Linked DNA regions of Homo sapiens: all the other regions are linked to region 5. The links are contacts of gene promoters, found by promoter capture Hi-C in blood cells and fetal thymus (Javierre and others, 2016). All regions are on one chromosome and are shown on one strand. The core of a region is centred on a gene start or on the middle of the fragment in contact, and the rest is flanking DNA. Distances in the headings are between cores, read along the strand shown. Region 1 overlaps CRACDL (CRACD like). Region 2 overlaps CRACDL (CRACD like). Region 3 has its middle 5.6 kb from the start of LINC02611. Region 4 overlaps CRACDL (CRACD like). Region 5 holds the start of INPP4A (inositol polyphosphate-4-phosphatase type I A).

Region 1 (5,373 bases), core at 1,219-3,718, 380 kb before region 5:
GGTGGAGCTGGCCAAGTTCGGGGGCAGGGATCTGCGGGTATTGCCTTCATTCTTTCACATGACTGCCAGCATCCCTTTGTCCCAGGTGACATGTTTGCCATTTGCTATCAGTTCTTCCGTGCTGAAGTATAAATGAGTAAAATACCTGTAACTTAACAGATGGCAATGTCCAGCCAGATTTCTTCAAAAGGATACATGAGCACACAGAGACCTTCTAGGTTGAACCAACAGGGCTCCAGTGATGGAATACTGGGCAGTGGGCTTTGCACTTCCTGCGCCCCAGCCTCTAAAGTCACACCTCTGAACCTTCCCCTCAGCTTCCAGAGACAGGACCAGGTGACTGTGCCCTTGGACAAATCAGGCTGGTGTGTTTTGAGAGAGAAAGCTCTTGTCTGAAGTGCCTGTGCCAGCCACCATGGGAGGGTGACAGGGGAGCCTGAGACACAGGTTCTCTGCATGGTCTTGGGAAAGAGTAGCTGGTTTCCAGGAGCTGGCCCCACACTTTAAACTCCCAGCCATTTACCTTTCTCCAGAAGGATCCTAGACCCCTCCTTGTTGAGAATCAAATTGAAAGTATTGGCCGGGTGCGGTGGCTCACACCTGTAATCCCAGCACTTTGGGAGGCCAAGGCGGGCGGATCACAAGGTCAGGAGTTTAAGACCAGCCTGGCCAACATGGTGAAACCCTGTCTCTACTAAAAATACAAAAATTAGCTGGGTGTGGTGGCAGGTGCCTGTAATACCAGCTACTTGGCAGGAGAATGATTGAACTCAGGTGGCAGAGGTTGCAGTGAGCAGAGATCACGCCACTGCACTCCAGCCTTGGTGACAGAACAAGACTCCATCTTGGGGGAAAAAAAAAGAAAGTATTTCCACACACGTAAAGCCAGAGACAGTGTGGGAAGACAGCCTGGGCAGAAAAGAGCATTGTTGCGTTGGTCGTCCTTATTTCACACGGTGAAGTTCATGCTCCGTGTGTTTGTTCCTTGTCCCACGAAGGTCTCTGTCGTGTCTCCAGACCACGTGAGCGACAGCACCGTCTCTGCCCGGATCTCAGACAACAGCCTGGCACCAGTGGCTGACTTCAGTTATCCTGCAGAATCCTCCTCCTGCCTGGACAACTCTGCAGCTAAGCACAAGCTCCAGGTCAAGCCCCGCAACCAGCGGTCGAGTAAGATGAGGCGGCTCTCATCGGTAATTGGGTTTCCTTCTCCACACAGAGGCAGGCCAGGCAGGCTTGGCACCCCCCTATGCCCCCCCCCAACCTGCCTCACTCCCCCACACAGGGTCTCATGCCCCCTCTGAGCACCCCACAGTTGATGGAGCCATGCTGCAGGAGCTGAAGTTGCTCATCTTTTTAAACATAAACCAGATCTGTCTCTCCCTTGCAGAAATGCTCCATTCATTCATCCATCCGTCTGTCCGTCATTCCTCACACACTCACTACTGAATACTGGTTGCCTTCCCCCTGCACTCAGAGGAAAGTCCACGCTCCAGGCCTGGCACATCAGGTCCTGCCTACCCCCCAGGCTTCTTACCTTCTTTCTCACTCAGCGTTCTGGCCACCTTTCTGCCTCTTGAGCTCAAGAGCTGCCTCTAGCCTCAGGCCTTGGTGCTGCTGTGTCCCAGCCTTGGGGCCTGAGAGTCCCCCAGAAAAACTCACCCTGCCCGTTCACTTCCTTCAGAACACTCGCCACATGCCAAAGTGACCTTTGTAAATGGATGTGCTCTTATTGCCAGTCTTCTTTGAGACCCTGTCCTGGCTGCATTTTCAGCCCTTAGAACATTTCTAGTCACAGAGTTGTTGAATGGATGAACCACTGAACAAACAAATGAGTGAATTAACAAATGAGTGAATGAAAGAAGCTGAAACACTAGCGTGGACAACTGTCTTGGATGAGGGCCTACTCAGTAGCATGGGGAGCATGCCTCGGAAAGACAGACCCCTCTTTGGGTGTGCTGCCTCAGGGTGTCGTTACCTCCTAGTCCTAGAAGCTGAGAAACTGGCTCATGGAATACTTTGGCTTCATTTACTGGCAGGTTCGAGGTTCACATAGGGTTGTTCCCTCTCCCCTACCTGACGGGCACTGTAACGCGTCCCCCCTGGAGTGGGGACCAGCCTGGCCACAGAGAATGACAGTGCTGATAAAGAGATGCTCACAGGCTAATGTCCTCTGTCCTTCCCTCATGACATGATTGTGGTGTGTTGGTGAAGTACCCAGGGCAAGCTGGGTGCCTCAGCTGGAGACAGTTGGGCTAGGGCCACTCAGGAGTTCAGCAACTCCCTGAAGAGAGTGAGTTTTCCTTTGGGCATATGGAAGGTGTTCTTTAAACTCATGCCAGCAGAGTAGACTTTTGAGGGGACTAATGCTGGAGGAAGAAGCAAAGGTGAGTTACCTTCAGGCTGATGTGCCAGCTAGGAACCAGGATACTTGTGCCTAGGTGTGTGTGTCCAGTGCATGCACAGTTAAAGGCTGTGTGCTGTGTCAGTGTGACAAGGTCCGGTCACTCAAGACCTGCCTGTACTCGTGCTGAATGAGACTACAGGGCCAGGGCCTGCTCCCTTCTGGCCCTCAAGTCTGTGATTTATGAATCCCACGGGGATGTCTTTGGCTCTGGCCAGGGCGTTTATAGCCAGCCACAACCTGGCCAGGACTTGGTGACAGAGCGAAGCGTGGTGTCTATTCCAGGTGGAAACACAGCCTCCCTTCTTGCTCCCATCTGGGCAGGGCTTATATCCTTCTTTCTTTACATTTGAACTTGACTTAGTTCTTGAATCCCACTTTGTAGAATAACAGAAAACCTGATGTAGCCAGCCTGGGCAAACAGGTAAACAGCCTTTCCTTGATTTCAACTCTGTCACATCCATGGTCTTTCCCTCTTTTCCCCTTCCCTGCTTGGTAAGGAGCGGGCATGGATATCTGAAGTTCTCAGAGGTGTCCATATTTTCCTCCATCCACTGTTGTGGAACCTATGATGCCGGGGGCCTCTGTCCTTCAGTGTCCATAGCACCCTTTGCCCGTTGGTCATGAGGTCCCTCTTCCCAACCATAAGGACCTTCCTTGTGGCCTGGCCCCTCTCAGGGATCAAGGTGCTTTCAGATGCTCCCTAAATGCTCCCAGGATGGGAAAGAACAGCCATGCTGCCCCCTCTGCTGCCTTGTGTGGGCTCTGTGACTGATAGTTTTAAAAGGTGACCTCCATCCTAAAGAGGTTTCAACATCAGCAGTTTCCTGTAGTAGCAGAAGGCCATCAACATGGCAAAGTAAAGAACCTGCAGCTTTTGAAAGTTCTTCTGTAGCTTTCTTTGTGCCTCTTCCTCTTTTTAAATCCAAAAGAATAGGATTGTGCATTTTGGCAAGAGTTTGCTTAGGTATTGTCACAAACATCCCAGGCATCCTATATTCTATTAGCAAGCAGATGCCATGAAAAATGTTAAAATAATAACAAACAGCAAGAAGAAAAACCTATTGCAAACATACCCTGTCACAGTTCCTGCTTTAGAAAAGGGGAAGGAGAGAGCAATAGCCTGGGTGACTCTTGGTGTCTAATATCACAAACTTTCTAAAAGATCAGTCTCTACACCATCAACCTTTTCGTCATTTCCACATGTTACTTTTGAATGATTCTTGGTTACCTGGAGCTCCTTTCCTTCCCGAGAGAGCAGGAACTGACTTTGTGACAATAGGAGGAAGTTGGACTGGAATCTGAATTCTAGAGGTCTTTCAGAAGAAGACTATCACAAGGCACTGTATGTTTGCCAAGCCAGTAGGGCTTCAGGAGGCCAGAGAAGGGGGGAATCTTAAACTGCATAGAGTGGGAGAGTTTGAAATAGTCCTTGGGGGCCCTGGTAGAGTATCTTGGAGGTTGGGGGCAGGGGGGTGGGGGAGAGTGGGGAGGTGACAGTCACTCAGACCAAGTGTCTGGCACAGTGTTGAGGGCTTGGTTTGACCTGAGTAGGGAGTGGAAGAAACGGCTTAAGACCAGAGAATCTAGGACTTTAAATTTAGCTGAAAATTTTGGTTTTATCCTATAAGCCATGGTTAGCTATTGGCATGATATGAGCCATCTTTTAGGAAAACCAGTCTGGCTTTACTATGAGGGTACATTCCTGAAGTGTTGACATGGGAGACTGGCTGGGAGGAACACAGAGCCATAGAGTCCCAGCTGTTCAGCTCGGCCACCTGCTTGCCCAGGCTTGAACAAGGTATTGGCCTCTCTGAGTTCCTGGCTCTCAAGTGCAAAAAGGGACTCATCATCCCTTCCTCACTGGGATGAATGGAAGATTAAATGAAATAACAAGTGTGGGAGCACAGAGCATAGCAGACACTGGCTGCTGTTGGTCGCCTTCCCTTGGCGTTACTCTAGTCCACTGGTTTTGAGGCTCTGCCAGAGGAGCTGTAGACATTTACTTTGGAGGCATATCTGCCATTGTCCTGATAAACTTGTGAGCCCAAGTAGACCAGTAGGATACAGACTGAGAAAAGACACCCGTGGGTACATGCCTACTTAAGTGCCAGCTTTATAGTGCTGCTATCACTAAACCATTATAAGCCTTGAAAAAAGTGGGGAGGTGACAGGCTTCCTGGAATTGGCTATAGCGACGATGCTTTTTATCTTTATTTCTCTCAGCGCGCTCAGTCTGAATCCCTGAGCGACCTGACGTGCACCCCAGAGGAGGAGGAAAACGAGGAGAAGCCACTTTTGGAAGTCAGCCCAGAAGAGCGCCCCAGCTCTGGGCAGCAGGACGTGGCGCCAGACAGAGGCCCTGAGCCTGGGCCACCGGCGCCCTTGCCGCCACCCGGAGGGGCCCGTGCCAGACGCGCCCGCCTGCAGCACTCCTCCGCGCTCACGGCCAGCGTGGAGGAGGGGGGCGTCCCCGGGGAGGACCCCTCAAGCCGCCCGGCCACCCCGGAGCTCGCCGAGCCCGAGTCGGCCCCCACTCTCCGCGTGGAGCCCCCGTCCCCGCCGGAGGGCCCCCCGAATCCCGGTCCCGACGGCGGAAAGCAGGATGGGGAGGCGCCCCCCGCAGGCCCGTGTGCCCCGGCCACGGACAAGGCGGAGGAGGTGGTCTGTGCTCCCGAAGACGTCGCGAGCCCGTTTCCCACCGCCATCCCTGAGGGGGACACGACTCCCCCCGAGACTGACCCCGCCGCCACCTCAGAGGCGCCCTCTGCTCGCGACGGGCCAGAACGCAGTGTCCCGAAGGAAGCGGAGCCGACGCCGCCCGTGCTCCCGGATGAGGAGAAGGGGCCCCCAGGGCCGGCGCCTGAGCCCGAGAGAGAAGCGGAGACGGAGCCCGAGAGAGGAGCGGGGACCGAGCCCGAGAGAATTGGGACCGAGCCCTCCACGGCGCCCGCCCCGAGCCCGCCGGC
Region 2 (5,126 bases), core at 1,022-3,521, 360 kb before region 5:
CATTTGGGAAAAACTCACATCAGTTTCTACTATGGGGACCTGAGCAAACTCCTGCCCTGGGACAAGGACTGACACTCACCCCACCCCATGATGGATATACTACCATATGAGGCCCTCGTAAATAAATGCTGCCACTGGGAGACTCTCTGTCTCCCTCAGCCTTTTCACCGGGGAAGACGGCCCCTCTGGGCCCTCACTCCCTCGCCTTTTAATGATAGAAGCGTGCTACCAGGGCTGTTAAAGCAGCAGTGGCTTTTGTCTTTCTGCCATGTGGAGTTGAAGCTTGTGTGAAAAGAGATATGTGGCCCAGCGGGAGGCGGGTTTCTGAGCATCAGTTGGGAAATTCAAACCACAGAAAGCCTGGCCTGGGAAAGCAGGAGAGCCGGCTGAGGAGCCCTTGGCAGTGCCTCCTGACCTGGGAGTCAGGTAAGGGATGAGGGCAGTTTGGCCCTGGCAGCCCCATGCTGGTGGCTGGGAAAGAAGCTTCCAGAAACAGTGTCCTTCTGTTTGCCCCTAGGCTGCAAAGTGAGTCTGTGTGGAGTCAGATCCTCTGCACTCGCTGAGTTGTGCAATTCCACTTAGGAGAGGAAGTGGAGCAAGAGGAGGGGAGGCTCTGGAGGGTGGAGGAGGAGGGAGATTGTGTGGATGAGGGGAGGCAGTGGTTAGAAAAGGCAAAGGGGGTGAGGCCCTACGGAGGGTGCACTTGAAGCTGTGGGGTAGTGAAGCGGTGGAAAGGGTCTGCTGGTGAGGGCATCCGGGGCACCTTGCTTAATTGCAGTGTGGAAACAGCTCTGGGTGCAAACTTGCCTCATTTCTCTATGTGCACAGGGAGCTAGGCTCTTCTTCCTGGTCACTCTCAAGCACCTAGTGACTCCTGTCTTAGGGGGGGTTTTGTTATTTGTGTGCTTTTACTTCTAATTGAAGAATAATATGCATACAGAGAAATGCACAGATCCTATGTGTGTAGCTCAGTGCATTTCCAGACTGAATACACCAGACCAAGAAACAGAATGAGACCAGCACCCCAGAGGCCCTGCCGTGTCCCCTTTCAGCAGGCTCTGGAACTCATTCCTGATTGTGGACCATGGTGGCTGTCAGAAGATCCTCTGGTCCTGATGGCTTTTGCAGGAGAGCCTGTCTCCATGCACTGGAGAGAAAGATTCAAAAAAATCATTCCTGTCTAGACTCAGCACCTTCCCCAGGGCCTGGCACCTAGTGGGCACCCACCAGGTCCAGTCCGTTCTCATTGTCTAAGGAAGTTATGCTCTGAGAAGTCACTGCAAGCTAACTTAGCAAGTACTGAGCCACTGCTCCTGGAGGAAATGCAAGGTTAGCTTCCTGTGTGTCTCCTGCCACAGCATCAATAGATCAACACATAACCTTGTTTTAGGTGTAATTCTGTTTAAAGATGCTTTATTTAGTATATATTGTTGACGCATTGACACCGAACACACAGCCAACGGCACTGTAACTCAGGCCTGAATGAAGCTTATCTGAAACACACATTATCTCCATCGGGCACATCACAGCCTCCTTGGGCTTAGGAACATTAGACAGCACATCAGCACTCCACTTGGCAGCCTAACCAGCAGAATCACCAAGAAAACCTAGTGCCCCAAAATGTGGCACTGAGTAGACTACAAAAAAGATACTGTATACGGTGTAAGAGCTAAAACAATAAGGCGGCGCATCACTGCTTGACCTCAGCTGGGAACTTGCACATTGGGAAACTCAAATGTTTTGCTGCCCTGCACGTGTTTGCAAATGACCATGCCAACACCATGCATATTGATTTTGGGATTACAAATGTATTTTAGCGAGTAGGCGAATTCTCAAATATGGAGTCAGCTCACAGCGATGATTGACTCTATTTGTTGAATGAGGAGAGGAAGGAATGGCGGTAAGCTTAATTTAAGGTGGAACTGGGACACAGCACCGTCTCCTGTCATTAGCAGTGGGGGCCTGCCCTGAAAAGCTCTTGCTCAGTCTCAAAATGCTCAGCATGGTTTTGAGAAGAAGACTTGGTTGAGCATTACCACCCTGAGTTCCACAGTGAGATCACACAGCCTGGCTCTGGGACAGATCTGATGACGAGCGACTGTAGACGTTGCCAGCATGTATTGATCAGGAGCAGCCTGTGAGTCAAGACTGACAACAGATCAATAAATGGCTTTTAAAAAGCAAAACCCCTCAAGCTGTTTATCTAGGAAGCCTGACAAACCCTGCCGCAGTGGTGTGGCCCCATGTGTCCCCAGGGCCTGGGGCCCACCTCTGCCCCAGAAGTCCTCTTAGTGTCTGTAGACAGGTCCCATTTCCACCAGGTCAACCAGGGCTGTGGCAGTGGACCTGGATGGCAGGCAGAGCAGAGGACCGCTGTTCTATTTGTTGAAGCAACGAGGCACAGTGACTGTTCTAGCACAGCTGGCTGTGAGAAATGGCGATGATGGATCCACTTTAGATCCGAAGTCTTAGCAAACTCAGGCCTCTTTTCCACAGAGAATGTTGTGAAGACCTGGGAATGAGCTGTTGATGTGCATTTTTAGGATGACAGCATAATGGAGAAAATTGGAAGTAGCATATGCCAAAGTATGAAGTGTTCACACAGCTCCCTTGGGTTGTTGATTTATGGGAAGCTTTTTTCTCCTTTATACTTTTATCTACTTTCTAAATCTGTACAATATGCTTGTGTACTTCTATGAACAAGAAAGAAATGTTATGAAAAGAAAAAGTTTCTTAAAAATTGCTGCATCAGGCCGGGTGCAGTGGCTCCCACCCATAATCCCAGCACTTTGGGAGGCAGAGGTGAGAAGATCATTGGAGACCAGCCTGGGTGACATAGCGAGACCCCATCTCTACAAAAATTAATTTAGAAAAAAATTAGCTAGTCATGGCCGGGCACAGTGGCTCATGCCTGTAATCCCAGCACTTTGGGAGGCTGAGGCGGGTGGATCACGAGGTCAAGAGATCGAGACCATCCTGGCTAACATGGTGAAACCCCGTCTCTACTAAAAAATACAAAAAATTAGCTGAGCGTGGTGGTGCATGCCTGTAGTCCCAGCTACTCGGGAGGCTGAGGCAAGGGAATCCCTTGAACCCAGGAGGCGGAGCTTGCAGTGAGCCTAGATTGCGCCACTGCACTCCAGCCTGGGCAACAGAGCGAGACTCCATCTCAAAAAAAAAAAAAAAAAAAGCCAGGCATGTGGCTCACACCCATAATTCCAGCTACTCAGGAGGCTGAAAAAGTTGCTACTTCAGAAAGGACACCATGTACCAAATTTTTCAGAGGCCTGGAAATCTTGTTGCCTTACCTTAAGGCAGAGCCTGTGCTTTATATCCTCAGCCAAAAGGCAAGCAACCTGGGAATTTACATTGTACGACAACTCGTTGCCTCTCAGGAGACTGTGCTTGACAGCCCTCAGCTTCCAGACTTAACAGCTGCATCCCTAGTGTCATACGGGGTGTGGCCCACCATTGGGGTCCCACCCTGGGCCCCTCAACTCGTCATAGCAGAAGTCCTTCTGAAAGAAAAAAACAATACCTTAAGGCTGAATTTTAATAGGCACTAAAAGAACTAACCATCACCTATCAGAAAGTCAAAATGAAGTGATGAGACGAATCTGTCCCACGTAGGCGTAGTTGAACACCTCTAGAAATGGTTTAACATTGAGGATTTTTGAAAGGGTTCATTTTAGATCTTCCCGAATACAAATAGCTCAGTAATAATGCCAAATGTGGGTCTGAAAACTTTGTCATCCTCTCCTACAGGAGAGTTCTGTGTGGAGGTATTTTAAGAGTGATTCCTGGGAATGCAGATGAAAACGGCTCTCATCTCGGGCAGTGTGTCCTGCATCCGGGATGGCCAGGCTCGCTGTAACACACAGCGTGTGCATGGAGGAGAGAGCGCCGCCGTGGATAGCGGGACTGCGGTGCACACTGGTGTGGCTTGGGCCAGGCTCCTCCATGATGCAGCGCCAGCAGGGCAGCCCCGATCAGACCCGCTGGCTCTCACACACTGTGGCAGACGTGACCAGGATGAGGCGCCTGCCCTTACAGGGCTTGCAGGCAGACTGGCACACACAGCATTGAGATGGTCTGCTGGAACCCGTGGACGATGTTCTCAGGGAGCCAAGAGTCAGCCTGGCTGCCTGACCCTGCAAGAGGCTGGGGTGCAACCCATTGCTTGCTGTGGTTTTCTTATCACAACAGCCACGAGGGCTCGTTGTCATGGCAGAATGGCTCTCTGGTCTCCATCAAGCTCCAGGGTAAGGTTTGACCAAAATTCTCCACCCCTCCTCCAGCAGGAACAATAACAACACTAGCAACAAGCACATAACAACAGCAGCAATTGTGGCAGCAACTAACACCACTAAGGGCTTTCCCTGGATTCTCTCACAGAATCTTCACAACCACGCTGGGAAGTGTAGACAGTGGATATTTCACCTGATCTTCACCAACCACGCTGAGAGGTATAGACAGTGGATATTTCACCCAATCTTCACAATCACACCAAGAGGGACAGTGGATATTTCACTTATCTTCAAAACCACACTGAGAGATATAGACAGTGGATATTTCACTTCACAACCACACTGGGAGGCATAGGTCGTGGATTATGTCATGGAATCTTCACACCACACTAGCAAGTGTCTACACCTGCTACAAGCATACAGTTCAGAGAGGCCTCCTAGGCCCCTGCCACAGAGCAGAGTGGCTCATCACACAGCTGCTCTGCCTGTGCTCACTGGGGACAAAGGCACAGCTTCTTTGAGGCTCAGCACTGTGGAAGGTGATGCTCAGCCCATCACCCCTTTCTCAGCTTATCTGCTGAGAGGCTCCAGGTGGAATCTCAGGCATCTGTGAACTACATTATGGAGCTGGAGTGGGTTCTCTCTCTTTTTCCTGGTGTCTAGACCCCCATTTGCCATTCCTGCACTCCTCTGCCAATGAGGGTGGCCCTGGACAGTCCCTGTAACAGGGCCTAGAGATTACAAGGGCCCTCTTGCATTCCTGACAAGGAAAAAGGTGAGAAAGAAGAGAATACAGAATAAAAGGAAAGACCAGCAGTTGCAGGGAAAGAGGCAGGAACCAAAAAGGAGAGAAATGGTGGTGTGGTCATAAGCTGGCCC
Region 3 (4,855 bases), core at 1,489-3,988, 330 kb before region 5:
AGTCAAACATCGATCCTGATGGTGATTTCACTTCAGGTGGCATTACTCTTGCCTTGCAACAGGCTGTTTTCTTACACTCTTTCCTCCGCAACCCTCTAAGACTTGTCTTTCATCAACATATATTAATAGTTTTTCCCATTGGTTTGTTTCCCTTTATAACTTTGCTGTTTCTTTTTCCATTAACAGGAGACCGTTCCTCTTGAGCCTCCCCTGGGCAACATGAGGATCTTGCTATTCCTTCCTCACCCTACCCTTCTCCCCATCTTTGCCCGACTGCTATTAATGCTACTGTTACTTTCACAGCACCCATATTATAATGTTTGCATTCTGTTTTGTAAATTAATTAGGTCTTTGGTGCTCTGCCAGAAGTTGATTCTAAAAATTGCAACCGAAGAAACAATATTTACATTATTTTAATTATATAAATATTAGTCATTGCAGAACTAAGTAGTGTGATTGGAGAAATAAATATAATTCACTGGTACTAAATCAGTTCCAAGCATCAAAGTCACATGGGTTCTTTTTTCTTATACTCCAGTAAATACTCAAAATCATGTCACGTTTCAATTTTCAGTCTAACCAATAATCTTCAAGAACTCTTGTTCTCTGCACCTTTACTGGGTCAACCTACTGTTGTTTCTTGGAAGCAATGTGCTGACATGGCGCTCTGAGACGTCCACATCTTGAATCGTCTCTCCTTTCCCTGGGAACCAACCTTGGGTTGCTTATCTTGGTTCTTCTCTTTGAAGCTGTTAGTTTTCCTAAAGGTTATCTTGAGGAAAGCTTCAGTTCTTCATATTCTAGGAGGTATTCAAAAGAACGTCATTAATCCATTAGGCTGAACTGTTTTCTCCTTTCTCCCTGTGTATTGGTATGATTGATATTTTAACAGCCTGGGAAGCTAAGAGTGACGTCAACAACCTCAGCTGCACTGAGAGTGAGGTGAATCATTCCAGAGAGTTCTGAGCCCAAACACACACTGGCTTGAGTGGTCCTGGGCTTGGTGTTCCCAACAAAGGCTCTTAGAACTCTCTTTAAGCCTCAGTCAGTATTTGGTGATCCAGTGGGTGTTTTCCAAGCCAGGCTGTCAGCTTGAAGAGTTCTCCCTTGGGGCAAAGTCCTTTTAGCATCTCAATTTAGGTAATGAGTTCCCTTTAAAATGCTGAAAGGACCTGATGTGGTGGCTCACATCTGTAATCCCAGCACTCTGGGAGGATGAGGCGGGCGGATCACTTGAGGCCAGGAGTTTGAGACCAACCTGCCCAACGTGGTGAACTGCTGTTTCCATTAAAAATGCAAAAATTATCTGGGCGTGGTGGTGGACGCCTGTAACTCCCAGCTCCTTGGGAGGCTGAGGCAGGAGAATCACTTGAAACCTGTAGGTGGAGGTTGCAGTGAGCCAAGATCACACCACCGTACTCCAGCCTGGGCAACAAAGTGAGACTCAAATAAGTAAATACATAAATAAAATGCTGAACAGGTTAATCCCTTGACCTTCTAAAATTGGGAAAGCTGGGTTCCAGGGGCTGAGCACAATGCACAGAAATAAACGATGTGAGTCATTGGTTCCAGGAACTCAATATTCTCAGCGAGGGGCCCTCCAGAGCAGCAAGTGCCAATGGAAGCATCTCTAAATTAATTGGATCTCTTTGTAAATCCAAAGGACAAATTAAATAAATGAATTGTCTGAGGCCAGTTGATTTGTAGTTCACATTTCCTCTGCAAAGGCTTGACTACAGATTTATTCATGCATTTCTGAAGCCACGTGATTTAGTGCTGAGGCCTTCTTGGGCCTTTGATAACTGCCATGATTATTAAGGCCTTGGAAGGTATAAAATGTGTTTTTCCACAATATTTACTTATGTCCTCTGTACAAAATGCATAAATATGTTACCAAGAATGTTACTAAAAACAGAAAAGAAAGGGCATGTTGTTTTTTTCTTTTCCCTCTGAGGCACTGCTTAAATATCATCTGCAAATTGTTAATTGCTCAGCTTGCGCTTTTATGACAGGGTTGGACCTGGGGAATGAAAAACAGCTCCCAGTGCTGATGCAGGGACACACCTGGCTGGCAACTCTGTTTTCAGAATGCCAAAGAGTGTAGGCTTCATTCCTTCATTCTGTAATAGGGTACAATGGGCATTGTCTAACCTTTATTTTAGCTACTTAGAGGGAAAAAAGCTACCATGACACTTGTGGTAGTTAATTTTATGTTTCAACTTGACTAGGTCACTGGTTGCCCAGATAGCTGGTTAAACATTATTTCTGTATTTGTCTGTGTGGGTGTTTCTGGAAGAGATTATCATTTGGATTAGTGGGCTCAGTAAAGCAGATTGCCATCAGCAATACAGGTAGGCATTGCCCAATCTATTGAAGACCCAAACAGAATAAAAATGGAGCAGGAAGGAGGATTTGCCATCTCTCTGTCTGATGCTTGCCATCTTCCCCCAGTGCTCCTGCTTTTCAGGCCTTCAGACTCAATCTACACCATTGACCCTCCAACTCTTAGGCCTCTGAATTAACCACCAGCTTTCCTGAGTCTCCAGCTTGCAGACAGCAGATTGTGGGACTTCTCAGCCTCCATACTCACGTGAACCAATACCGTATAATAAATCTCTTCATATGCAGTCATGCATTGTTTAACAATGAGGATACATTCTGAAACACGCATTGTTAGGCAATTAAGTCATTGTGTGGACATCATAGAACGCACTTAAACAAGCCTATAGGCTTTGTGGTGTAGCCTGTTGCTCCTGGGCTACAAACCTATACAGCACGATACTGTACTGAACACTCTAGGCAATGTAACACAATGGTAAGTATTTGTGTATCTAAACATAGAAAAGGCACAGTAAGGCTGGGCGCAGTGGCTCATGCCTGTAATCCCAGCACTTGAGGTTGGGAGTTTGAGACCAGCCTGGCCAAAATCAGGAAACCTCATCTTTTCTAAAAATACAAAAATTAGCTGGATGTGGTGGTGCACTCCTGTAGTCCCAGATACTCAGGAGGCTGAGGCAAAAGAATCGCTTGAACCCAGGAGCCAGGAGGCAGAGGTTGCAGTGAGCCGAGATCACCCCACTGCACTCCAGCCTGGGGAACAGAGAGAGAGACTCCATCTCAAAAAAAAAAAAAAAAGAGAGAGAAAAGGCACAATAAAAATACTGTTGCATATGTGGCCTGTCATTCACCAAAACATTGTTATACAGTACATAATTGTATATCTATATGCTACTGGTTCTGTTTCTCTGAGAATCTAGACTAATATACCACCTAATGGTGATCTCTAATGTTGCAAGGACAATAACTATCTTATCTGTCCTCACACATTTTATTGCAAAGTGACATTGTGTGTTGTCCAGACTGAGAATTTACCAGCTATAATTTCCCCCCACTTCAGAAACAGATTGGCAAATCATGATCAACAAAAACTATGCTCACTGAGAGAAGTCACCCACTGTTCAGACACAGGAGTGAGACTCTGGGGGCAGGAGGGCATCCAGGAGGAATATACAATGACTTTCCCTTTAAACACAGAAGCTGGAACAAGGCTCTGGGTTTAATCTGACTTGGAATTGCCTCTGTGGTTCTCAGCCAGCTCTGAGGAAGTTAAGAACCCACCCTTGCCTGTTCAAGGCTGGCTTCCAGCTCAGGAGGAAGGCTAGGGGGTGAGAATTAGGAATCCCCCACCAAAACACACACACATGCACGCACACACAAACACACATGTCCAAAGCTGACTGTTTTTCTCTGGGATTGTATTTCAAGGCCTCTGAAGTCATCAAAGTCTCTAAAACACAGGTGGTCATGGGGCTTTTCATGATAAACTTTTGGAATCTTCTCCCCTCATTAAAACCAAACCACAGTTCTGCAGGGCTTCTCCGAGAGCCAGCCTGATGGGACCCAAGTCCATGAAGGCTTCCTCCATTACCAGTGAGCAGCCTACAGGGACCCCAAGCGTGACCTGGGGTGGGGCCAGAGGGCAGGCCAGGCACTCTCGGCCTCCCGAGACCTTTCTCATGCCTAGCGTACTCCGCAGGCACCTTGATGCCTAGTGAGCGAGGAATCCAGCTTAGCAAAGAACAGGCACAGACATTTCCTGCTTGATTGGAATCGTTAATACTCGGTTCCAGGAACCTGACAAGCTCTGCTTCGCTTGGCACCTAGCACAGTCCCAGATGGTAAATCTTCCCTGTCACCACCATTGTAACTCCCCAGAGGGGTCCTGGAATTGCTCCAGGAGGCCTTGTGCCAACTGCTAAATCCCAATGTCCCCTTCTCGTCGTCTCACCACAGCAGTTCACGGTCCAAGACCCTCGATGCTTCCATGAAGAGGCAGATCGGCACCTTGTTGCATGCAGCCAAACCATACATGAGTGCACAATACAAAAATGATGATAGATTTGAGCTCAGTGGGTGAGAGGCAGCAGCTGTGTGTTTACTCAAGGTGAGTTTGGAAAAGCTACATGGCATGGTCAGGCTTTTGAGACTTGTTTGAAATGTGGCCGGAAAAGGGGAGGCTGACGTGGGAGGAAGAAATGGGCACGTGTCCCTGGCATCCGCTGCGAGTCCTCCTGCCTCCCTGAGAACACAGTGCACAGCATCCGGGAGAGACTGGCCAGGACTTGGTGTTCAGTTACCTCCAACACCAAAGACAGTTGGACTTGCATTCCCTGGGGCCAGCTCACAAGCTTCAGAGAGCTCACAGCATAATGTCTTCTTCTGACACATGCTCACTGAACATCCACCATGAGCCAGGCACTGGGTAAGCACTGAGGAAACACGGGGCTAGTGACAAGGATGTCTCTGCCCCCAGTGGGCTGTCAGCTCACTGGGCAGAGGAGTTGGGCAAGTCCTG
Region 4 (5,582 bases), core at 2,687-5,186, 400 kb before region 5:
TGCATGATCTCTCGGGGCTCCTCCAGCCTCTGAGTTCTGGCCTGACCCTGGGTAAGGCTTCTTGGCAGGCAGAGCCATTTCAGTGGGAGATCCTGTCCTTTGGATTCTCCAGCTTCTCTTGAGCCCCACTGGGGACAGCTCAGGGCTCTGCCCTTCACTGGGTCAGCACCTGCAAGAGGTGGGAACCACGTGGGTCTCATCTGTCACTGTATCCCAGTGCCTCAGAAGCACCTGCCCATGCTGGGTATGCAGTCAGTGTGAGTGTAGACGCCATATCTGCTCTGCTACCTTAGGCAAGTTAATAAACCGCTTAATATCAGAAATGTTCTCTGCTGGGTGCAGTGGCTTACACCTGTAATCCCAAGCACTTTGGGAGGCCAAGGCAAGCAGATTGCTTGAGCTCAAGAGTTCAAGACCAGCCTGGCCAACATGGCGAAACCCCGTTTCTACAAAAAATACAAAAAATTAGCCAAGTGTGGTGGCGTGGGCCTGTGTTCCCAGCTATTTGTGGGGGGGCTGAGGTGGGAGGATCTCTTGAGCCCAGGAGGTTGAGGATGCAGTGAGCTAAAAATGTTCTCATCTCCAAAATGGGAATATTAAAAGTTCTTGGGGATTAAATGAGATAATTCAGGTGATAGCTGCATGCTTGATAAGTAATTTGCAGTTGCCATGGTTAACTCCAAATTCAGGCAATGGAAAACTCTTGCACTGAGCTAGAGCTCAGTGGCAGCCTCAGGAGATGGCACTGAGGGGAACAGATGGTGACTCCTAGGCCACCCTCACCATCTTCACTCTTCCCCTTACACCGTATGTTTTCCTTCTCCATTGCCTCTTCCATTGAATCCCCGGCAGCTACCACCTCTAAAGGACTCTTGGGGATGAGGGGGTTGCTGACTGACTAACATATTGCAGGGGGGATTGAGGGGGTGACCTTTGGAACACCTGGGCCTTTGGGTTGGGCCATCAGCCTAGAACTACTATCATTCTGCTGTTTGATAGCATTGTCTGTTGCTTTGAATGTGAACACAGATGATGAAAGCAAGGATGTCCTTTGAAGCCTAAAACAGTGGTAAAGGATTTGAAAAATACTGTTTCTGTCCAACCCTCATTTTATAGATAATGATAGCATGATCATGAGTCAAATCTGGTGAGGTTCCAAGAGTTTTTGGCAGAGCCGACACAAGACCGGACATTTTTTTGAAGCCAAATTGTATGAACATTGAGAGCTGGAGCTGGTGAAACTTTGTTCAGCTTTTGAGGGATTGGCTGGTAGGGAGGATGAACATTAGAAGAAATCGAAATATTAGAGCCAACTCGGGCACACACCCGCAAATCCTTTTCTCTGTTTGTGTTTTCTTTGCATTTCTCCCATCATTTCCCATTCTGTGCTGTGTACAAGTGGTAAACGTGAATTGGTTAAATATTCAAGCCCCCCTTTTTAAGTGTGAGGATTCGTCATACCTAACAGTAAGAAATAGCTTTCTAAATAAATGGTGTGATAGTATATGGAGGTAGAGCATACTGTAACAGTCAGTTATGGAAGGCATGGACACCACTAGCTCAGTATTCTGTAGCAGGAATATTGACCTGTGATCATGCATTTGGTTTCCATGAAGAGTGAGGGATTTTTTTATTCAGGAAGCAGCTGAATTTATATGGATTAAATGATCATCATGTCTGGGATGATTTGCTTAGAAATCACCTCATAGGAGTGGGATGGGGTGTGGGGGTAAAGATGAAGCAAGATTAGCCATACCTTGAGTTCATTATATGTTGTTCATATTTTTGTATCTGTTTGACATTTTTCATTGCATTCAAAAAAGAATTTCAATGTAAATAAATAATGGTACAGTAGTATATCAAAATATTAGGTAGCCATTAAAATAACACGTGAATAATTTTAATGATGTGGTGTAAGTAAGAAAATCAGGAAGTCAAGCTTCCTAATATGATATGTGTGCATGTGGATAAAATATTTGCGTAAAAAATTATTGGAAGGAAATGAAAACATTAACTGTGGTTATCCTTGGTTGGTTGGATTATGGGTGATTTTCATTCTATTTTCCAAACTTCCTGTAGTAAACAAGAGAAAAAAATCATTTCTTATAATTTGAGAAAAGCTTTTTTGAAAGAAACCTAATCTGCAGTGTGTAAATTAGTGAAGCATTTGTTTCAGTGATCTGTTTTCCATTAAATTGCCCCAGTCAGTGATTAAACGCTTATGCGGTTACTGATCTTGTGGCTGTGGATATGGTTTTGGCCTGTACTGTGCTGCACTCTGCCCTGGACTGTCTTTGCTGGGGTGTGTGCAGGCCAGATCATGGCAAATGCAGTCACGAACACCATTTCACTCATTGGTAACTTCTGCTAACCATGTTTCTTTAACGTGAATTTCCATATAATTTCAGCGAGCTTGACATGATTTCCACAAGGGTGATGGACATTAAGCTTCGGGAGGCTGCAGAAGGCCTTGGGGAGGACAGCACAGGTAAGGCCCTGCTTCCCCTGCTCTGGGGAGGGCACTTGCTTTGTTGTGGGGCAGGGAGAGGGACTGACAGAGGCAGGCCTTTGGGGCTTTCTGTATGAAAAGTGGGGATTTAGTTCCCAGTGTGCTCAGATACCCCCAGGCCCTTCACGCTGTGACTGGGGGCACATGCACATTATTTAAGGCTGCTCGGGGCAGATTTCCTCTGCTTCTGTGTCAAGCACGGGGACCTTTCAGCTCATTTTCCTCCTTTCTGGAGGTAAGCATGTCCCCATGTTTGGCTGACTTGAATGCAAAGGAAGAGGTACTAAATGGATTCATTCACCATCTAAGAATATCCAAAGGCATCAGTAGGAAGCTGAGCAAAGTACCTGATAGCCTGATCATCTGTAAAAAAATAATTACATCAGGAGAGAGCCTTTGATCCCTCTCCTTCATGACTTTTGTTCTGAAGGAGATCTTTAGTATGTTGTCTGCTGAGCTGAGTTCTAGGCCCATGAATCACCATCTCATAAGACTTTCTAAGAGTTCTCCAATTATGTCATTGGTTTACTGTTATCCAAATATTGCTATTTATGTCCTGATAGAGTTGTAAAATTGACATTAAAAAATTAATCTCCCCACAATGTACCTTTTCTCTAGATTTGCCATTCATATACTCCCTTTATTTTGGTGACCAAGGCCTCCATCTCTCTCTTATTTACACTGAAAATGCCAGTAGTGATTTTCTTTGATATAGTTCAGGAGAAACAGCTCCCAATAATATTAAATCCTAGCTGCTAGCCACTAGCTTCAGATACTAATTTCAGCAAATACTCCATTTCAGATATTAAAGATAGATTTTTTCTTATTATTTCATATTAGAACCATTTTTCCTCTGTCACATTTCAATGGATACCAAATAAATCCAAATATAAGGTGAGGGTTTTTAGATGAGCCCTGAAAAAAAATTGAGTTTCACATTTTCTCATATTATGGGACACTGAATTATTACTTATTGTAAACAATAAATGTTTGAATAAATATTTCATCAGCCTGAAATGACCTCAATAAGTGCTAGTTCTGAATACATACAGAGGTTACTGAAGAAAAGGGACTAAGTTTTCTTTTTTTCAAATAGTGATCTTAAGTTATTCAGACCAACCCTCTTCCACTTAAAATTTAAAATTCTAGATAAGAATATTCTTTAAAATATTTTTCAAAGTAAGAAATAATAAGGCCAGAATTGAAAGGAAAATGGGCCAGGCACAGCGGCTTCCACCTGTAATCCCAGCACTCTGAGAGGCCGAGGTGGGAGGATTGCTTGAGCCCAGGAGTTCAAGACCAGCTTGGGCATAGTGAGACTCTGTCTCTACAAAAAAATTTAAAAATTGGCTGGACATGGTGGCACACACCTGTAGTCCCATCTACTTGGGAGGCAGAGGTGGGAGGATTGTGTGAGCCTAGGAGGTTAATGCTACAGTGGGCCATGATTATGCCACTGCACTCCAGCCTGGGCAACAAGCAAGACCCTGCCTCCAAAAAAAAAAAAAAGAAGAAGAAGAAAGAAAAGAAAAGGAAAATGGCAACCTGGAGAGACAACAGAGTATAAAAGCCACTTTGCCCTTAGATCATTTACCAGTCTTGGAAATTTTCATGTCTTCATGGGGTGGAAGGTGAGAGCAAGGGTCAAATATCAAACGACAAGGCCTGTATAATGTAGGCTGTCTAATAGAAGACACTCTCTACAATAAAGGGGAGCCAAGGAGCTACCAAATCTGAGTAGGTGTGAACTAGGGGTAAACCAACCCTTTTGTAGATTTGTAGCTTGAGTTTGCATCATTTGGGTAATTCAGAGAACCTCAACCCTTGAACTTGATTAATATTGCTTCTAGACTGGATGCAAACCCAGGTACTTTTCAGAAGCAAATAACATTCACTAAAGGAAGGTGCCTTCTATTTAGACTTCAAATTATCACAGAAAATATATTTTCAGTATCATGACAAGCATATAGTCAGTAATAACCAGGCATCTAAGGCAACAGGATACTATGAATGAGAACCAACATGCTGTATGTTGAATGGTGCTCCCACCAAATCCATATGTCGAAGTCTCCAGTATCTCCAAATGTGGCTTTACTTGAAGACTGGGTTATTGCAGATGTAATTTGTTAAGATGAGATCATATTGGAGTAGTGTGGGCTCATATTTGTTAAGATGAGATCATATTGGAATAGGGTGGGCTCCTACTCCAATATGATGGGTGTCCTTATGAAAAGGGGAACTATGGCCACAGATATGCACACAAGGAGAACACCATGCACACATGAAGGCAGACAAGAGAAACAGACACATGAAGGCATCAATATCAGAATTACCAAATACATCCTATAAAACAACTATGCATACTATGTTTGAAGATAATAAAAAAGTTTTAAAACATCCAGGGAAAAGTGGCATAGCACCCAGCCAGTGCAATAAAGCCAGAGAAAGGAATAAAAGGCAGAGAGGTGGAAGAAAGAAATAAAACTATCTCTATTTATAGATGACATGTTTATACAACATATACAAAAAAGCACTTAGAACTGTTACACAAATATACCGAGATTGCAGTGCACTCTTTAAAAGTCAGTTATGGAAGACAGACATACAGTTAGCTCAATATTCTGTAGCAAGAATACTGACAAGTAATAATTTAATTTGATTTCCATGAGGAGTCAGAGATTTTTTTCATTTAGGAAAAAGCCAAGTCCATAGAGGTGAAATAATAATAGTGCCTGGGATGATTTTTTTTGAAATAACCCATCAGAAACAGGGAGGAGGAGGGGTAAAGATGAAGCAATCAAAATCCCAGCAAAACTTTTTGCAGATATTGGCAAGCTGACTTGAAAATGTATGTGAAGAAGCAAAGAACTAGAATAGGTAAAACAATTTTGAAAAAACATAAAGTTGAAAGCTTCATACTACCTGTTTTTAAGACTTACTATAAAGCTGCAGTAATCAAGACAGTATGGTATTGGCAAAAGGATAGATACACAGAGACAGAAGGGAGTAGAGTTCAAAAACAGACCCATACAAATATGGTTAATTAATTTTGACAAAATTGCAAAATCAATTC
Region 5 (5,113 bases), core at 2,376-4,875:
AGATGATCTAGGATTTTCTTTTGCTATAAAGGACATTATCGAAGCAATTGACAAAATCTAAATACGACCTGTACACTAAATAGTGTTATATCAACATTAATTTCATGATTTTTTTTTTTTTTTTTTTTTGAGACAGTCTCACTCTGCTGCCTAGGCTAGAGTGCAGTGGTGTGATCTCGGCTCACTGCAACCTCCACCTCCTGAGTTCAAGAGATTCTCATGCCTTAGCCTCCCAAGTAGCTCGGACTACGAGCACACGCCACTATACCCAGCTAATTTTTGTATTTTTAGTAGAGACAGTATTTCATCATGTTGGCCAGGCTGGTCTCAAACTCCTGGACTCAAGTGATCCTCCCACCTCAGCCTCCCAAATTGCTGGGATTATAGGCATGAGCCACTGCGCCCGGCCATGATTTTTTTTTTTTTTTTTTTTTTTGAGACAGAGTCTCACTCTGTCCTCCAGGCTGGAGTGCAGTGGTGCGATCTCTGCTCACTGCAAGATCCGCCTCCCAGGTTCACGCCATTCTCCTGCCTCAGCCTCCCAAGCAGCTGGGACTACAGGCGCCCACCACTAAGCCCGGCTAATTTTTTGTATTTTTAGTAGAGATAGGGTTTCACCGTGTTAGCCAGGATGGTCTCGATCTCCTGATCTTGTGATCCGCCCGCCTCGGCCTCCCAAAGTGCGGGGATTACTGCTGTTATGAATATCCTTGTTTTTTGGGAAATACACAGTGAAGTATTTAGAGGTAAAAGGGCCTCAAGCCTGCAACTTACTATTAAGCAGTTCAGGAAAAAGTAGTAACACACAGGAATACAAGAGAATGATAAAGCAGTGTAACAGAATGTCCACATTTGGAGAATCTGAGAAACCTTTGGCTTATTCTTGCAACTTTTCTGTAAGTCTGAAACTATATCAAAATACTAAAAAAAAAAAATTAGAGAATAACATGTGCATATGAATAGAAATATAGGTAAATTCCCTGGGATTAGCTTCATGATGGTATTTTCCTTAAAAACACAGAGACAAAATGAAGCAAGCCTGCATGGGCGTTAATATTGGTCTCCTCAAAATATGTTTTCCTCACAGAACTTCTGTTTTAGGACACTGAAAAAAAAAGCCGTTTCGAAGGCTCTCTCAAGACCAGCTCATTAATCAAGTTCTACAGAAGCACCAACATAATCAAGCCTTTTTCGCTGCAGATTTGTGCTATTTTTTTCTCAGTGAAAGTCAAAGCCTCCTGACACCATGAGTAGTTGATGATGTTGTGGCAACTTTTCTGGAATACTAAACTGAAAAGGAGCTTTTCATTTAAAAACGAAAACAGGATGAAACAGTCTTGGTGGAAAGCCTCCCCCTCCACTCTGCCTCACTGAACTCTTGAGATGTTAAGCCCTGGGCTGGGGATCAGTGGGGCAGTCGGTCCCACACCGCCTTCAGGTCCATTCCCGTGTGCATTTGAAGAGATGTTGGCTGAGAACGCTCCCTCTTAGGCAGGCAGCTGGTTAAAGGGACTTGCAGGGCTGATAGTTCTCTGTCATACACATCCCATTTTTCTAGTGCTCTACAGTTTACAAATAGCTCTCGTGTATTATTTTATTTCATCCTTCCTTAAAGTGATTTTTTTTTAAAAAACGCTAATATTCAGTTTAACAGCAATACTACAAAATATCCAGTTTTGAAAACAGGGAGGCACTATAATATCTGCCCTTGGTTCTGAATCTAGTTGGGAAACAAGACTTACCCAAGCAGATTAAACACCCTGAGACAGAATAATCTAAATGAAAAAAGTAGCTACATGATGAGTAAGGTGGCCAGGTAAGCAGACTAATTCTATAAGGAGCTCAGTAGAAACACAATGTTTCTTTCTCTTTGAATTTGTCCACATCCATTTCTTTAAGCCTTTTCTTCAAGCCAAACTCTACCAAGCAGCTCTGGCTTCACAGGCGTGTTTACTAGACATCACAGGGAATGAGGCACCGAGAGGCCCGTTCACATGCAACGCCACCCCTGGGACAGACAGCATCACGGCCTCCTGGCACCACTCCTGCAACAGACCAACCACACTGCCCTTCTTACATGGGCCCCATCATTCATCTTTCTTCAAAGAAAACAGTACATTAGCAGTCGACACTTCAGCAAAGAACCCCCAAAACAAATGCCCTAGCCTAGATCCAAAAACAAAATTTCCGTTAAAGAAAGTGTGTTTTTCAACCAAAGAAAAATTAGGCTCAATTCTAGGACAACCTATAGCAAGCAATTCTACGTGCACTGGCCAACGCCAACAGCAGCTAGATTCCAAAACAAACTCAGCAAAAAAGGCTCTGCTCTCACCTTTTAGAGATAAGAACCAGAGTCAGCAAGCGGCAGAACCATGATTCACACCGAAGTCAACCCACTCTGTCCTCAACCCCACTGGCTTCCCCATGGTCCACACAACCCACTGTGAACAGATGGACCAGTCAGAATTTCTCTGCAACACCCAAATCGCCACCCCACCCCCATTCCCTTGGTTTAAATGCCCTGAGGGGCAGGCGACAAATCAAATTCCACTCTTAGGCAGGTTCCCAACACAAGACACATTCAGTGGCAAAGCAAAAGAGAAGATGGGCTCTACCACATATAGGTCTTTCTTACCCAGAGGAACATTTTCATGGTCTGTCATTACGGATGAACTCGGGGCAGGAAGAACCCATCATTATGTAATGTCAGAGGGCAGGCGACAGGGGAAGGGAAGCGAGACCATCAACATTCCCTTCCTTCGCCCACAAAGACACAAATTTACCTCTGACATTTTGAACGTCTGTCTTCTGGGGCCTACCCATTCCTGGCTGGCTTTTCAAGAGACAGCCACAGATCCCTGCACATTTCTCAGGCCTCAATTAATTGACTAGCAAAGCCAGAGAGAAATAAAATATAGAAAGCAAAGATGCTAGAAATGTTGTCGGGGTCTAAAGGCAGGCAGAAAATGGAAGAGTTTCGAGGATGGAGACCAGATTTCCCACACGGAGATGCATGTTTACTTTCACCCGGTTATGTTTCCACCCCAAACACGGCAAGGCCTCCAGCTTCAGGAGCCCGTAGACCCAGCCCTGGAGCCGCATCGGGCAGGCACCGCGTCTGCGTCCCGCGGCCACGCGCCCGCTCGGCACCCGGCTCCCTGCTGGGGCGGCCGCGTCTTCACGGGGCTGGGGGTCGGCCGGGCTCGGATTGTTCTCAAAAGACGCCACCGCAGGTGGACCACTGGCACCGTTAGGCAGTGCAATTTCCATGAAAACCGCGGGCGCCGTCCACATCCGCCCCAGCGGGGACCTGGACGCGCCCCCGCGCCCGCTGTCCGTCCCCGGCCCCGGCCCCCGCGGCGGCCGCGTCGCCTCCTGCCCGGCCCGGCCCACCTACCTGGCGCTCCCCGGCCCCCGGCGCCAGCCGCCCCGCTGTCCCGCCGGGCTGCGCGCCAGAGCCCCGCAGCAGCAGCAGCGCCGCCGCCTGGCTGTGAAGTCGCGGGCTGCGGGCCCGGCCTCAGGTGCTGGTCCTCCTGCCCCGGCCCACGGAGCCCGACCCGGCGGCAAACCAGCAGCGAACCCTCCACGCGCGCCGCAGCCCTAGCCAGCCGCCGCCGCTCTAGACGCCGGGCGCAGCCCCGCCCTGGCCCCGCCCCCTTGTCGCGCATGCGCGCTGAGGGCCCGGCCCGCGCCCTGCGACCCCCGCCCCACTACCAGCCCGAGCTGGGTCCGCCCTCTGAGACAGTAGGGCCGGTGACCGAGCTGCTCGCGCCAATTCCTACTGCTAGGTTCCCACAAGATCCCACCCTATCCTGTGACTGCTTCACCTGCAAGGAGTTCTTGAACTTCTGGACTTGACTGAGCGATGGCATCTTCACCCTGTCATCCACTGAGGCATCTGAGGCCCTGACGGATCCCCAAGGGAAAGTTTCCTGGAGGAGCCGCGACCCGGGGATGCGCCCCCAACCTTTTGCCCTCCGGACAAGAGCACTTCCTGAAGTGCAGACGTACTCACTCCCCAGGAGATGTTTAGGAAACTGAACATTCCAACCAGACAAGCAAAAAATTAAAATCTTAATTCTTTGAAAATACAGACTTGCAAAAAAAAGAAAATTGCTAACCTCTAAGTGTATGTCCTTCCGGACCTGTTCTGGCCTGTGTGCATAAGTGTGCACTAACAGACTTGCAACAGCATCAGTCCTTACACTTTGCCCCAAGTTTCTATTTTTCCATAGACAAAAACAATAATCAGAAGTTTTGGAAGAAAATTTTCACTTTGACTTTAAAACAGCATTTCTCCTTGAGCAAGGGCAAATACTGGACTGAATGTATCCTTATCTTTGAGTCTTCACATTTTATCCGAAAAAAAAATTCTTAAAATGATTTTAATTCAATAAACCAGAATACTTCTCAGGCAGAGCATTTAAACATATAATTTGCTTCAAAAACAAAAGAGATTAACCAGTTAGGAATGGAAATTAAGAATTCTCTGAACTCATTTAGAATTATGTCTGATCCTCCTCATGTCACCAAAATACAGACAATAGTCTGGAATAAAAATAAACAAATATAAAACGAGTTTTTTGGGGAGCCTGAGGCAGGAGCATCGATTGAGCAGAGGAATTTGAGGCTGCAGTGTCAGCCTGGGAGACAGAGCAACACCCTGTATCTCTAAAAAAAAAAAAAAAAAAAAGAAAAGAAAAGAAAAGAAAAAAGAAAAAGAAAATGTCCTAGTTTTAAATTTTTATTTCTTTACTTTTTATTTTATTTCTCTTCTGAAAAGTAACTTAGTAATAAAACAGTTCCCTCTTATTATTTCTCCAGCTAAATGGAAAGAAATATTGACAGAACCTTGACTCCACAGTACAAAGTTAAAGCCAAGAAAATCAAATTTGTAGAAATGCAAAAATATTTTTGCATTTTTTTTAATTACTGTGACCAATTAGTTTGCTTGGAACAGCCCCAGTTTACATCTTTTTGCAGCAAAATTATTAATAGGGCCCTCTTTCACTCTCAAATGTATTCCTGTTCAAACAATAAATTTTATGGCCATGCTGTTTATTTATTTATTTTTGGGATGGAGTTTCGCTCTTTTTGCCTAGGCTGGAATGCA

What was found. Contacts are between HindIII fragments. The CHiCAGO score rates a contact against its expected background, and 5 or more counts as called.
Region 1: a contact is called between a fragment that was not itself captured here and the fragment with the promoter of INPP4A in region 5, in 1 of 17 cell types (fetal thymus). The highest score is 6.8, in fetal thymus.
Region 2: a fragment that was not itself captured here is called in contact with the fragment with the promoter of INPP4A in region 5 in 1 of 17 cell types (non-activated CD4 T cells); the score reaches 5.2 in non-activated CD4 T cells.
Region 3: a fragment that was not itself captured here is called in contact with the fragment with the promoter of INPP4A in region 5 in 1 of 17 cell types (non-activated CD4 T cells); the score reaches 6.1 in non-activated CD4 T cells.
Region 4: a contact is called between a fragment that was not itself captured here and the fragment with the promoter of INPP4A in region 5, in 3 of 17 cell types (non-activated CD4 T cells, total CD4 T cells and fetal thymus). The highest score is 6.2, in non-activated CD4 T cells.

The regions. Positions count from the first base shown.
Region 1 is chr2:98,822,795-98,828,167 of GRCh38, reverse strand. CRACDL (CRACD like) reads left to right here. Exons shown (of 10, transcript NM_207362.3): 6 at 999-1,193; 7 at 4,631-5,373. Among named protein-coding and RNA genes, the nearest start is that of LINC02611, 54 kb to the right of the region's middle. The HindIII fragment of the contact is 8,017 bases long and covers 1-5,373 here.
Region 2 is chr2:98,801,063-98,806,188 of GRCh38, reverse strand. All of the region lies in intron 7 of CRACDL (CRACD like), which reads left to right. Among named protein-coding and RNA genes, the nearest start is that of LINC02611, 32 kb to the right of the region's middle. The HindIII fragment of the contact is 728 bases long and covers 1,908-2,635 here.
Region 3 is chr2:98,775,088-98,779,942 of GRCh38, reverse strand. No RefSeq gene overlaps it. Among named protein-coding and RNA genes, the nearest start is that of LINC02611, 5.6 kb to the right of the region's middle. RefSeq lists enhancers at 819-1,383, 4,382-4,855. The HindIII fragment of the contact is 3,905 bases long and covers 786-4,690 here.
Region 4 is chr2:98,843,637-98,849,218 of GRCh38, reverse strand. It overlaps CRACDL (CRACD like), which reads left to right. Exons shown (of 10, transcript NM_207362.3): 2 at 2,409-2,488. The coding sequence starts at 2,419. Among named protein-coding and RNA genes, the nearest start is that of LINC02611, 75 kb to the right of the region's middle. The HindIII fragment of the contact is 2,972 bases long and covers 2,451-5,422 here.
Region 5 is chr2:98,443,370-98,448,482 of GRCh38, reverse strand. It overlaps INPP4A (inositol polyphosphate-4-phosphatase type I A), which reads right to left and starts at 3,625. Exons shown (of 25, transcript NM_001134225.2): 1 at 3,398-3,625. RefSeq lists a silencer at 3,156-3,795. The HindIII fragment of the contact is 7,361 bases long and covers 1-5,113 here.